Regions from separate parts of the Homo sapiens genome. Here regions 1 and 3 are each linked to region 2. Evidence: promoter capture Hi-C in 16 types of primary human blood cells and fetal thymus (Javierre and others, 2016). All regions are on one chromosome and are shown on one strand. Each heading gives the region's core, a stretch centred on a gene start or on the middle of the fragment in contact. The rest is flanking DNA. Distances are from core to core; before and after follow the strand shown.

What was found. The method cuts DNA at HindIII sites, captures the fragments that hold promoters and counts their contacts. A CHiCAGO score of 5 or more calls a contact.
Region 1: a fragment that was not itself captured here is called in contact with the fragment with the promoter of AMER1 in region 2 in 2 of 17 cell types (monocytes and total CD8 T cells); the score reaches 10.1 in monocytes.
Region 3: a contact is called between a fragment that was not itself captured here and the fragment with the promoter of AMER1 in region 2, in 7 of 17 cell types (non-activated CD4 T cells, naive CD4 T cells, total B cells and 4 more). The highest score is 8.9, in non-activated CD4 T cells.

What each region holds. Positions count from the first base shown.
Region 1 is chrX:63,352,002-63,356,171 of GRCh38, forward strand. It overlaps SPIN4-AS1 (SPIN4 antisense RNA 1), which reads left to right. Exons shown (of 3, transcript NR_046739.1): 3 at 1-187. Among named protein-coding and RNA genes, the nearest start is that of SPIN4, 2.8 kb to the left of the region's middle. The HindIII fragment of the contact is 327 bases long and covers 1,612-1,938 here.
Region 2 is chrX:64,202,977-64,207,132 of GRCh38, forward strand. It overlaps AMER1 (APC membrane recruitment protein 1), which reads right to left and starts at 2,732. Exons shown (of 2, transcript NM_152424.4): 1 at 2,594-2,732. LOC112268307 reads left to right here and starts at 2,970. Exons shown (of 4, transcript XM_047442706.1): 1 at 2,970-3,108; 2 at 4,006-4,064. The coding sequence starts at 3,043. RefSeq lists silencers at 1,839-1,898, 2,879-2,978 and an enhancer at 3,109-3,268. The HindIII fragment of the contact is 4,951 bases long and covers 1,017-4,156 here.
Region 3 is chrX:64,980,404-64,985,036 of GRCh38, forward strand. It overlaps a transcript of ZC4H2 not described here. Among named protein-coding and RNA genes, the nearest start is that of ZC4H2, 6.3 kb to the left of the region's middle. The HindIII fragment of the contact is 3,364 bases long and covers 34-3,397 here.

The sequences.
Region 1 (4,170 bases), core at 525-3,024, 850 kb before region 2:
AGCATATTTCATACTTTTATAACTTGTGTTTTTCATGTATATCATGAACATTTTCCAAGATTGTTAAATACTCTGAAAACATGATTTTTAATAGTAATATTAAATATTTGTAATATTCCTTTTGATAGTCCACTATTTATCCTACATGATCTATAACATAAGTATAAATAAAAACATTTTACCTTCATAAATGGATTTATTGTCTAAACCATTTTTTAAAAGAAGATTTAATGACATGGAGAGCTGCACATGAGATGAGTACAATGAAAAAGCAAAATATTGAAACAATATTGTGGTCTTAATTTTGTAGAGAGAGAAAGAAGGGATTTTTTGTGTATATATTTGCTGTTTTTCTGATTATAAAAGTGCTGCATGCTTATATCGAAAACCTGCAAGAAAAGAAAGTGTCCATAATTTCACTTACCTTAAGTCACAGAGCTGCTATGAGGATTAAATGAGAATGTCTGTAAAGCTTTTAACACTATATCCCACTTACAAGATGACATTAAAATCCAGAAGAGTCTAGGGTTCTCATTTTCATTCCTCTACTCTTCACTGGTGAAAAGAGAAAGCGTCATATAATCATGAGTAAAAAAGGCAATTAATTCACCTGGAAACAAAACCGGGGCAAAAGCTGCAAGGTGTCAATACTGGTTGCCTGAACATTTCATTACCTTCCAAGTCAGTGACAGAGAGACCTAGTCCTCATTCTGTTTAATAGCTGGTCACACAGAATGTGTAAGGATCCTCCAGTTCACCATGTTTCCCAGGCAAAGGACTTCAGAGATGGGATAATTCTTTAATGCCATATTACAAGATAGTAATTCCAAGGAAGAAGGTAAACTACATGTATGAACAGTTATTTCCAAACACTTAGAATGACATCGTGGTGTATATATATTCACACATATACACAACCTACACATTCATACTCAAAGTCAGAAGGTGAACGTATGTAAATGTTATGCCATTATGTTCCACAAATAATGTCTTCCAAATAATTCCCCAGACCAAGATACACCAAGCACTTTTTGCTCAGAAGAGCAGTTGACACATGAAAGAAGAAGATGACCCACAGGGCACACAAATGCAGGGAAAACAGTTTCCTCAGGCCTTTGGTTACATCCTTCAAGGGAATTCTTGCTTACAACCCCACAAAGTGGCCTGAAGAGACAAAAAAAAATTCGAATACCCTTTCTTCTCCAAAATTATGATTCTAATATTCAGACCATTCACTAACATATAGATTTAAAAGGCCTTATCATGCTGATATAATGTTCACTTTGTATGACTCCCACTGGACAATAAACTTATTCAAGAAGGGATTTTTATCTTGCATCCCAAATACCCTACACAGAATAGAGACTCAATAAACATTTGTTAAATGAATAAATAATTGCTTTCAGCTGCCCTGCCCCAATGCAAAGACATCTTCCACAGTGAAACAAGTAGCCTTACACAAGCTTTTGACGACTACAGTTCTGGCAACTCAGGCTCTCCCTCAGCAATTTTATCCTTTTAAAACACCTAAATCACTGACCCTGTGAATACATGTGCCCATAAGTCTGAAAATGCTTAGGAGAAAACATTAAAGCAAGTGGGGCGGGGGCAAGCTTTCATCAACCTACATGTGTGGATAACAATAAAACTTACCTCAAAGTGTAAGTGTGAGGATTAAATTAGATAAATACACACAAATCTCTCAGCACATGAACTGGTACATAGTAAGTACTCAGTTGTCTCCTAACTAGTCATCTCCTGAAAGAAGTTATTTTGTCTTATTACATCTTTTTACAAACCACCCAGCTCATACCCCACCTCTAAACCTTTCCTCTGTTTTACACTCAAGACCTCTTGGCCAGGGCTTGTGAATCAAGGAGGGCTATGGCATGATTTGTTCCTTATATCCAATTTCAGAGCAATATTTCAAATACTGGAAGCTTCTGGAAGATTGACTTCTTAATAAATAAACATTAGTGAAAATTAATTTGGAATACTCAGTGTTAATTTATAATTGGAGGGGTGGTGGAGGGAGGTATAACTATTGTTAATTCCAGTGTGCACAAAAGATTATAATGCATGCTATAAAAGAGGTACAACTGAAGCACTAGGGGACCCAAAGGAGGTAGTGATTTTTTATGGCTGGGGAGATCAGCAAAGACTACTTGAATGTCTAAAATAACAACAAAAGAAGATATTCAGAGGGTGGCAGTGTAGTGAGGTATTTTCAAAGAGCTCAAGGAACGACATAGAGGGTGAATGGTTACAGGATATGTGACAAACTAGTCAGGAGTTTGTGACAAGAGCACAGAGTTCGTTGTGATAAGGAAAAGGGGGTATAGTTTGTGGTGTGGAACAAAGTTAGTCAAAAACCTCAAAGTTGAGAACTGATATTTCATCCACTGTTGGTGGAAGTAGCTGACATTCCAGTTCCCCTAACAATGTAGTGTTGGTGTTACCAAGCAGAGAGCTGATCTTCCATGCTTCATCTGACAGAAAACAGGCAGTGTTTTTATTCCCCTGGAAGACAAATACTGGTGATGCTGAACAAAGAGCTGATCTACTACCTCTCTGGCAGAAGCAAATGGTACTCTGATTCCCCTGCCAGGATAGTGTCAGCAAGGTCAAATGGTAAGTTGCTCCACCACATTCATCTGGTAGTGTGAGGTAGTGCTAGTAATTGTTATGATACACTCACACCCCATATAAACCTGACAGCAATGAGATTGAATACAGTAGAGCAAGTCAGGGCTAGTCAGCACTCTGGTTCCCTATACCCCTAATGTCAGTGAAAACCAGTGAGTAGCTGACCTTCCATCCTCATCCACAGTCAGTGAGACAGAACAAAGGGAAACATGATGGGACTAGATGGTACTCAACTTTCCCTAAACCTTTTGTGTCAATGGGTCCCAGAGTTCAGATAAGCCCCCACTCCCACTTTGAGGTCATAAGATGGTATGAACCTGTAACCCATTATCACCACGAAGGTGTCAGCAAATTTGGGATGGGAGCTGAACTTCTGTACTGCCCATGTTCAATGAGGCAGTGTGAGTTAGTGCTGCATTTTTTCAAAGGTTGTGTCAGGGGAACCTAACAGAAGAAGCTGAACATATATACAAAAGCAGCCCTTCAGCCACAAAACAATAGGGGGGCTCTCCAATAAAAAGTTTACAGAGAACACAGAGTCTCATGATATAAAATTAAAAAGTGACTAAGATGCAATTAAAAAAAAATCATACAAGGAACAAGGGAAATCACAACTTAAAAGAGACAAGACAATTAACAGGTGCCCAAAACAGATAAAAAATCGATGTTGGAAATATTTGAAATAGATTTTAAAGCAGCCATCATTAAAAAAAGTGATTCAATAAGCCCAGGCATTGATGAATGTCTTTAAGTATCAAGAGCATTCAGGGAAATATGACCTCACTGAACTAACTAAAGAAGGTGCCAGTAACCAACCCTAGAAAGATGGATTTGTGTGACCTCTCAGAGAATTCAAAATAGCTGTTTCAAAGAAGCTCAGTGAACTTCACTGAGAAGCAATTAAGAAATTTATAAGAGAAATATAACAAAGAGATTGAAATAATAAAAAATCAAACAAATCATAGAGGTGAAAAATATAATGGATGGAATTACAAATGCATTATGGTATTACAACAGTAGATTTGATCAAGCAGAAGAAATAATCAGTGAGCTCAAATACAAACTATTTAAAAATATACAATCAGGCCGGGTGCGGTGGCTCACACCTGTAATCCCAGCACTTTGGGAGGCCGAGGCAGGTGGATCGTGAGGTCAGGAGATTGAGACCATCCTGGCTAACACAGTGAAACCCCATCTCTACTAAAAATACAAAAAATTAGCCGGGCGTGGTGGCGGGTACCTGTAGTCCCAGCTACTTGGGAGGCTGAGGCAGGAGAATGGCATGAACCTGGGAGGCAGAGCTTGCAGTGAGCTGAGATCACACCACTGCACTCCAGTCTGGGTGACAGACCGAGACTCTGTCTCAAAAAAAAAAAAAAAAAAAAAAAAAAAAAAATATATATATATATATATATATATATTTATTTATATATACAATCAGAAGTGACAAAAGAAAAGAAGAATTAAAAGCAATGAAAAATACTTATTAAACCTATGGGATAGCCTCATAAGACCAAATGTAAG
Region 2 (4,156 bases), core at 1,482-3,981:
CTCATTCACTCCCTTCACCCTGCCTGTCAATCACTTTCTCCCCTCCCATTCCTGGGTCTGCTTATGCTTTGCCTACTAAACCCCTCTACTTTCTGGCAGCTTCCATGGATGATCCCCCTGCTTATACAGATCTTTCATCTCTCTCCAAGTAGTTTGTCTCTTGGCTCATGAATCAGCAACCAAAGATATGCATGGTCTGGGATCTGAGCATTCCAAATCCTGGGCCTGTTGTTGGGGGAAGATATATCATGATTTTTTTCTTGTAGTTGCAATCATCCCCCTTCTAATCCATCCTCATTAGGCACACTCAATACATATCTGAGCCTTGAGTATCATTTCTCTAGCCACTTTCATATGAATCAGGACAAGCGCAAGTTGGAAAGGTAAAGGTCTTCTGGAAAACTCTACAAAGAAAGCAAGTCCTTCCGGAACAATCATTAACTGCTCTGCACTGCTTGGCTTTGAGAGGGTTGTGGCTGAGGTCCAGGTTTTATTTACTCCTCCAAAGGGTTCTGAGAGAACCCAGACATCCATGATATCAGACAAAACAGAGGCAGGCCAACTTAATTATAGTCTGCATCCTATTATAATTTAAGCCTGAATATGCCCAGGAGAAGTAGGCAGCCCTGGAGGAGTTCTGAGAAGAAAGAAGTCACCATGGGTGGGCAAGAGCCAGGCAGAAAGGCACCAAGGAAAAGGAAGGCCCAGAACTGAGGTTTGAGAAGGAAGAAGATTTGGACAGGTGTAGGCTGAGTGGGTTTGGGTGTGGGGAAGGGAGTTACATAGAGCAGATACATTAGGTGCCTGCTGGCCTGAGACAAGGCAGAGGGCAGGTCCAGCCCTGGGCTAGAGATGCCCAGCTGCAAGTAGAGGTTTGTGTTGGGGCCTAATCAAGGTGGGAGGAGGTGACTGTAGTGTGATATCTGTGGTCCTGGCTCCTGTCATAAAGGTCCAGAGCTAGCCTTCCCCCAAGTGAGGAATTTACTGGGTCTCGTTGCCCCTCCTCAAAGTGCCCAAGCTTTGCCTGGGCCCTGCAGCCCACAGGGCTCTCCACACCAGAGGTTAATCAAAGGTCCAAGAGCTTACCAAGCCCCCAGTGGCTTCCTCTGTCCTATTCCTCAAAAAGGCCTAGAGAGCCCACTGCCAGAGGTGCACCATGGTGCAGTGACTGTGCAGTGGGTGGTGCCGAATGAGGGGAGCCACACTGGGGGAGGGGGCTCTGCTGGAATCCCGGTGGGGCAGGCAGTCCAACAGTGCAGTGCCCTCTGCCTTGCCCATGCCCACGCCGCTGCAGCAGGCAGGCAGAGCCGCAGAGGAAGATGTTTGTGTGTGGAACAAGGCTCGCCTTGACCCCGCGGCCCTTGCCGAAAGCAGCCTGGCCAAACGGAGACCAGCTCTGCGGGGCCAGTCCAGCTGCCGCCTAGGCGCTTGGGCTGTGACGCATGTAGCGGGCACAGCCCCTCACCACCGGGGGAGCCAAGCAAAGTCCAGCGTTCGGGCGGTCACCAGTGTCAGAAGTGTCTCCAGCAGACAATGACAGGGGCCTGGCGGGCTGGGTATGTTAAGTAACTGCGAAGTTGGAGGGTTTGGCCACCTCGCTAGCTCTCCTGTACACAGAGATGGTATGATACGTTCCGTACTACAATGAGGGCTCCTTCGGCCTCTGGCAAGGAAATGCCCCCCAAACACCGTGCCTATTGCTATTTTTAAACGGGAGGCTGGAGAGGAAAACGCGGCCAGTATCCTCCAAGGGAAAAGGAGGTGAGGCGAGGCGAGGCGGGAGACAAAGCGGCCTTGCAGCTCTAACTCAAGGACTAGCTTGCGCCGCTGCTCTAACCCAAGGACCAGCAAGAGCCCGGCTGCCAGCCAGCCTGCCCGACCGCGGGGGCGGGCGCCAGATGCGCCCGGAGGCCCAGGAGGAGGGGCGCGGCTAGTTGGGGCCACAAGGCCAAGGTTCTGAAGGGAAGTGTGCGACTGAGCTCAGCCCACAGGCCCAACTGAGCTCCTCTGGGGAGGGGGCAGTCTGTGGATGTCCCAATCCACGCCAAAGCCGGTCTCCGTCGGGCCCAAGCCAGCACGCCAGCTTGAGTCCGCAGAAAGGAGGGAGAGGCTGGAGATGCACAGGGGAGGGGAGGGGCGGCAGCCAGGCAGCCGGAGAGAGGGGTGAGCGGTACCCGCGTTACACAGCTGTTCCAGCAAATGTGCTACAACAAAGCTGCAGAGCTCCTGGCCTACAAATGCATGGCTTGGGGTGCTGGCTGGCGGCGCCCTTCCCGGGACTGTGCGGCAGCACGTGCGGGCCCATCCCCGCCCCCCCGAAAGCCGGGAGGCTTGGCCCAGGCTAGCCTGCCTTCCTACCCGCCCTCCCCAACCCCCCTCCCCCCAGCCGTGGTCGCTTGTGCCCAGGGGACTCAAGGCCGCTCTGCCTCTCCACCCGACAGTCCGCAAAGCGGGTTCCAAAGGAGAGGGGCGAGCGACCGGGACTCCGACCCGCCTAGTCCTTAGTGCCCTCCTCCAGTCCGTAGGAGCAGAGCACGCGGGAATGCACCCGACCGCGGGCAGGCGGAGGCTCCTGGCTGTACGCAACGCTTACCCAGCCCGGTCAGGTTCCTAGCCCGGTTATTGTCCGCTGAGCCGCCCTGGGCCGGGCTGCAGCCTCGGCTGCCACGGCTGAGAGCGCCGCCACCGCAGCTGCTGCCGCCGTCGCCGCGGCTCCAGTCACCTCCAGCACTGACTCCCCTTCCCCAGGCTTTGGGTAGCTCCCCCATACCCCCTCCCCCAGTACTCCAAGGCCACCGGGTGGGGCATCTGCGTCCTGATTGGCAGGCATATGGCCCAATCGCTATGGTGGGAAGGCGTGCCCCGGCCCGCCCACTGTTTTCCTTGGTGCGTTTCTCTTTAAATGCAAATAAGTGCAGGCGTGGTGTTGGCAGGGGGCGGAGAGGGTGCGGAACCACTGGCTGGGGCTCCCCACTCCCGCCCCCACGCCGGGCTGGTAGTGGCGTGGCTACACCGTGGCCTCAAGGAGCCAGTCCTGCCCGGATGGGGCTCGCCGGATCGGTTTCGGTTTTCACGCACTCCCATTTCTGTGGCCGCTGTGCATTCGCGGTACTGTGCCCTGGCCGCCACCAGGACGTTTATTCCTGAGCTAGAGGCCGGCGGGGAGTAACGAGGCAGAGAGGTTGAGGAATCTGGGAAGACTGCAGAAACCTAAGGGCCGGCCTATCCTTAGTCGTAGAGACAAGGCCCTGCGGATCGCGCCGCCAGGCCACCCAGAGGAGGGACTCACCTGCCAGGAAAGCTAGCTGCAGCGCCTGCGCCCTAACTTCGTCCGCCTCTCTGGCACACCAGTGCCCTTAGAGACCATAGAGGCCAACTTCCACCCGTTACCGACGGGCCCTCTGCTGCCCAGAGTGGGGAAAGTCCCTCCCCACAGTTACCCAGCCTGCCGGCGACAAGGGCCAATTTGGAATCCAGAGCCCCGGGCTCCCTTTCCAGGATTGCTTTCACTTTTCTTCTCTGAGATGATACCTGTTTCCATAGTTTGACCCTCACCCAAATTTCGCACCTTCTATGGAATGTGGAGGGAATCCCCAAGGTCTCCAGAGTCCCCCTTCCCCCATCCTTTGTGAGCCTGGCTTTCGGCAGGCCTTTTTCCTTGAAAAGTCTAAATATTGAGAGGAAAATCTTGTCTGGGCCCAAACCGGAGGTCAGGCTGAGGACAAAGTGAGGAGGCCTGTACCAGCCTTGTCTGCTACTGTGTGTGGGATGTGGCAGGGAGCCCGGCGAACTTGGGTCTCTAGCCTAAGGACATTAAGTGGCATCAGTGGCTGCCAGGGCCAGGTGAGCTGAGGCAGCAAAGAATCTAGTTCCACCACTAGTTCAAGAATATCCAGAAGGCCCAGCCCTAAAACTCTGTGTGTGTCTAAAAAGGGAGGTGGGTGGATTAAAGCTGAGGATAGAGAGAAGGATTAGAGAACAATGCGTGCTATTTTTGCATTGCAGGAGTGTTCTCTGCTGCTTCTGGGTCCTGACAGTCTTGAAAAGATCCAGCTGCTGAACTGGTAAGAGGTGGACTGCTGCCTCTGCATGTGTAGAGCACAGGAACTGACATGGCTGCTAGGGATCTGACTCTAGCTCTACCTCAGACTTGCTG
Region 3 (4,633 bases), core at 466-2,965, 780 kb after region 2:
TAGTCCTGAGAAGTGGGCAAGGAGTCAGGGAAAAGCTTCCTGAACAAAACTAGGCAGGATGAGAGAGGAAGGGAGGGAAACAGCAGGAGGTATCGAGGATTAATTCATGCAAACAGCCAACAAATATTTACTGAACACTTACTACATGCCAGGCACTCTCCTAGGTTCCAGGGATATATAGTGCTTTGCATGTATTAAGTTAGTTTAATCCTTGCAAAAACTTCACAGGAAGTATATATTATTATCATCCTTATTTTACAGAAGAGGAAGTTGAGGCACAGAGAAGTTAAGTAACTTGCCCAGAGTAACACAGCTAGTAAGTGGCAGAACTGAGATTCAAATTTAGAGAGTCTGCCTCCAGAAGCCATGCTCTCACCTACTATGTTCTATTAGTTACCCAAGATCCCAGTTCTTAGGAAGTTTACATTCTAGTAGGAGGAGCCAGACAATAATGACAGAAAAGAAAAAAAAATAAACATAATAATATTTGGGGGAGATAAGCCCATAAGACACTAATTGAGGATAATAGGACAGAATGATGGCAGGAGGGGGAATGTTTTAGTTAGGATGGTCAGGGAAGGCTCCTGTTCAGAGATGACATTGTAGTGGAGACATAAGGAGTTGGGCATACAATGATCTGGAGGAAGAGTGCTCCAGGCAGAACGAATAGCCGGTGCAATGGTCCTGAGTCAGAAAATGCTTAGCCTATGAAAAAAAAAAGTAGGTAGGGCTCTGGCTGATTAAGGGGAGCAGAAGTAGACTGAGGAGACAGTTTATGTCATTGAACTGTTATTCTAAAAACAGGGTCTTGTAAACCATGGTGATGAGTCTGGGTTTTATTCTAATTACAATAGGCAAACATTGAGGGTTTTAAGCAGGGGAGCAACATGATCTAGTTTTTAAACATCACTGACTGCTGTGAGAACAGATTTTATTGGGGCAAAAGTGGAAGTAGGAAAACCAGTGGGAAAACTATTACAGTTGTCCAGGAAAGAAATTATGGTGGCTTGAATTACAGTAGTAATAGTAGATATGAAGAAAAATGGGCTGATTGGGAACATATTATTGGGCACAGAACTGATATGATTAGCTCATGGATAGGATGGAGAGGTACGGAGGGCGAGATAAGGCATCTAAAATGACTCCTGGATTTTTGGCTTCAGTAATAAGGTCAGTGCCATTCACTGAAACAGGAAAGACTGGAAGAGAACCGTACGATGTTAGAGCTAGAAGGCACTCACATGTGATATATGGAAAAACTGAAGAACAGAAATGGTAATTGACCTCCCTAGGTTAGGGAGTTAGGAGCTGAGATAGGTAATCTCATTCTTCACACTCTCTCAGAAAATTTTCATGTTCTCCATCACTTCAGCCCTTCAGCTGGGGTGTTGAGGGGTGTGTTTGAAGCCTTAACTTTGAAGATTCCCCTAGGAGATGGGACTTGTGGGTGATTAGCCAGAATTTGTATCTGCTTACATAGACAGTGCTAGGTATTCTCAGGCAATGTTTCAGCTGAAATTCTTGCTGTTTTTGATGGCTTTATGTCATTGAAATTTCACTCCTCTATTCTTTCTCACCTACCCAATGTCACTGACCTAGATCCCCCAAATGCAAATTTCAGGGAACAAAGATCTGGCAGTGGAAGTAGGGGAGTCCCATTTTTCCCCTCTGCAAGTCCGAAAAACCCTAGTGTAAAAAATCCTATTATAAAAGCAGTCTAGTGTACATCTACTGCATTTTCTTAGTAAACTTTCATCCACACCCTCCCCTCTTCTTCAATTCTCACCTCTTTGAGAGTGACCAAAACTGACTGTCTAGCTCCAATGACCTTCCGTTTCTAACAGCCTCCTTTATATCACCAGAACTAAGTATGGGATTGAGTTTCCAAAAGGGCTGAGTCTTACCAGGTTCCCTGCACATCTTTCCCAGGCTGGGGTACTTTAGAACTACTCATAGGGCCCTTGTCCCCCTCACAGAGCTGTTTAATGATTAAATGAAAAGAGATAAGTTATGAGAAAGCACCTAGCACATTGGTTGAATTATAATAGGCATTGATTACAGGTCAATATCCCTCATCCTTCTCACCACTTGCCCTAATTCTTAGAGTCATTTGGAGAACCCAAATTTGGGGATAATTCAGTGAATAGAAACAGGAGAGAAGCATGAAAAAACTATAAATAAGTTGTCTTGATTTAGGCTTGAGAAGACAATGACAGAGGCTTCATTTAGAAATCTCAAAATGGACAGGGCAGCATTTGATGTGAAGGTTGTAGCCATTATTTCCCCTAAGTTTGGGGCAAAATGGCTTCATTTATAGTAGAAGCGTTAGAGGGATGATAACTTATAAAGCCACAATGACAAATAAGCAACCACAAGGAAAAGATGGACAGATTCAACTGTATAAAAATGTACAATGAAAAATGACACTCATAAAATAAAAATGAAACAGACTGGGAAAGTAAAAATAACACATAAATCTTAGTAGTACCCCACCCAGGGGTTGGTTGCATTGTAAACAATAGACCAAACCTTATGCCTATGAATGAAACATCTGGTATCTGCAAGTAAACAGATTGGGAGAGGAGTGGGAAGGCAGATGTCCTCTCCTGGGCCTTCAAAATCCCCTTGCATATATCACGTATAATTGCCCAGCTTGACTTCCCAGATAGCCCTTCCTTTCCTAGCACAGGTGGCAGTATGCATAGTGGTGAGGCACCCAGACTCTTCAGTCAGGCTGCCTGAGCTCACCTCTGGTCTCTACTATTTTTAGCTATCTGACTCAAGGGCAAATAACTTCCCCTCTATGGGTTTTGGTCTTCTCGTATGGAAAATGGAAATGATAGTAATTGTAACTAACTCTTAGGGTTGTAATTAAATTAATATACGGAACTGGCTAAAACAGCATAATAAATACTGTAGAAGTGTCTGCTATTATTATTAAGATGGATATTCTTCAATAAACTTTCTTGTTACCTCCTTGTTTTCCATCATTGGCAGCCTAGCTCCCCTACCAGACAGGTTCCTATTATCCTCTAAATCACAAGACTTGAAAACGATTGTGCTTATCTACTTGGGAATGAAAATACCAAACAAATGCATCATAGATGTGGCCAATCTGTCATAAAATTGAGGATATAACAAATTTATACATCTGACATTATTTAAAAATATGAAAATCATGTTCCCAGTCCTATAAAATGACTGTAAATTTACTATATACACTGATTACATGATCTACTCTTCCAATTAATAAGATAAATCATATATAGTGTATGTTAGCACATAAAAATGTATCTCAACTTATATCATAAACTAGATCAAAAAATAACCTGTAGCTCTACGGAATAGTATTCAAACATTTAACTTAAAAAAGTTTTGCCTTCTAAAAATTTAGATAAGCTTTTTGGGGAATAATTTGAATGATTTTGGGTTTCTTGAGGGAAAAAGAGTAATTGAAGACACAAAGGAATTCAAGGAATGTCTTCTTGACCCAACATTTCACTTCAACACGTTTATTAGTAACCTCCTTGTTTTCTTTGTTGAAATTTTAGATTTGGGGGTACATGTGCTTGTTTGTTACATGGATATTATATGCATAATGGTGGGGGTTGAGCTTCTAGCATACCCATCACCAAAATATTGGACATTGTACCCAGCAGGCAGTTTTTCAACCTGCACCTCCCTCCCATCCTCCATGGTTTTTGAGTCTCCAGAGTCGATTTTCTCCACCTTTATGTCCATGTATACCCTTTGTTTAGTTTCCACTTATAAGTGAGAACATGTGATATTCTATTTTCTGCTCCTGTGTTAGTTCACTTAGGATAATGTAATCACCCAAGGGGTTCATCTTGCTCACTTCCCAGAAAAGCCAATGCATTGAGAACAGAAGGTTTTCACAATAGAAAAAGAGTTCGATAAATGCAAAGCCAGCTACACAAGAGGACAGGAGTTTATTATTATTCGAATCAGCCTCCGTAAAAATTTAGAGGCTAGGGATTTTTAAGAACAGTTTGATGGGCAGAGGACTAGGGAATGGGGAATGCTGTTTGGTTGCATTACGGATGAATTCATAGGGAGTCAAAGCTTGTTTTCTTGCACTGAGTCAGTTCCTGGGAGTTGGGGCACAAGACCAGATGAGCCAGTTTACTTCTCTGGGTGGCCCAGCTGGTCCATCAGAATGCAGGGTCTGAAAAATACCTCAGACACCAATCTTAGGTTTTATAACAGTGATGTTATCTATAGGAGCAACTGGGGAGGCTAGCAATCTTGTGACCACTGGCTGCATGAATCCTGAGCCATTATTTCTTATCTTGTGGCTACTTTGTTAGTTTTACAAAACAGGCCTGATCCCCAAGCAAGAAGGGGATTTGTTTTGGGAAGGGGCTGTTAGCATCTTTGTTTGTTAAACTACAAACTAAATTCCTCCCATAATTACCTTGGCATATGCACAGGCATGAGCAAGGGCAACTTGGAGGTTAGAAGCAAGATGGAGTTGGCAGTTAGGTCAGATTTCTTTCACTATTAGAGTTTTCATATGTCAGATTTTCCTCACTGTCACAATGTTCACAAAGCTGGTTTCAATAATGGCCTCCAACTCCATCCACGTTGCTGCAAAGAACATGATTTTGTTCTT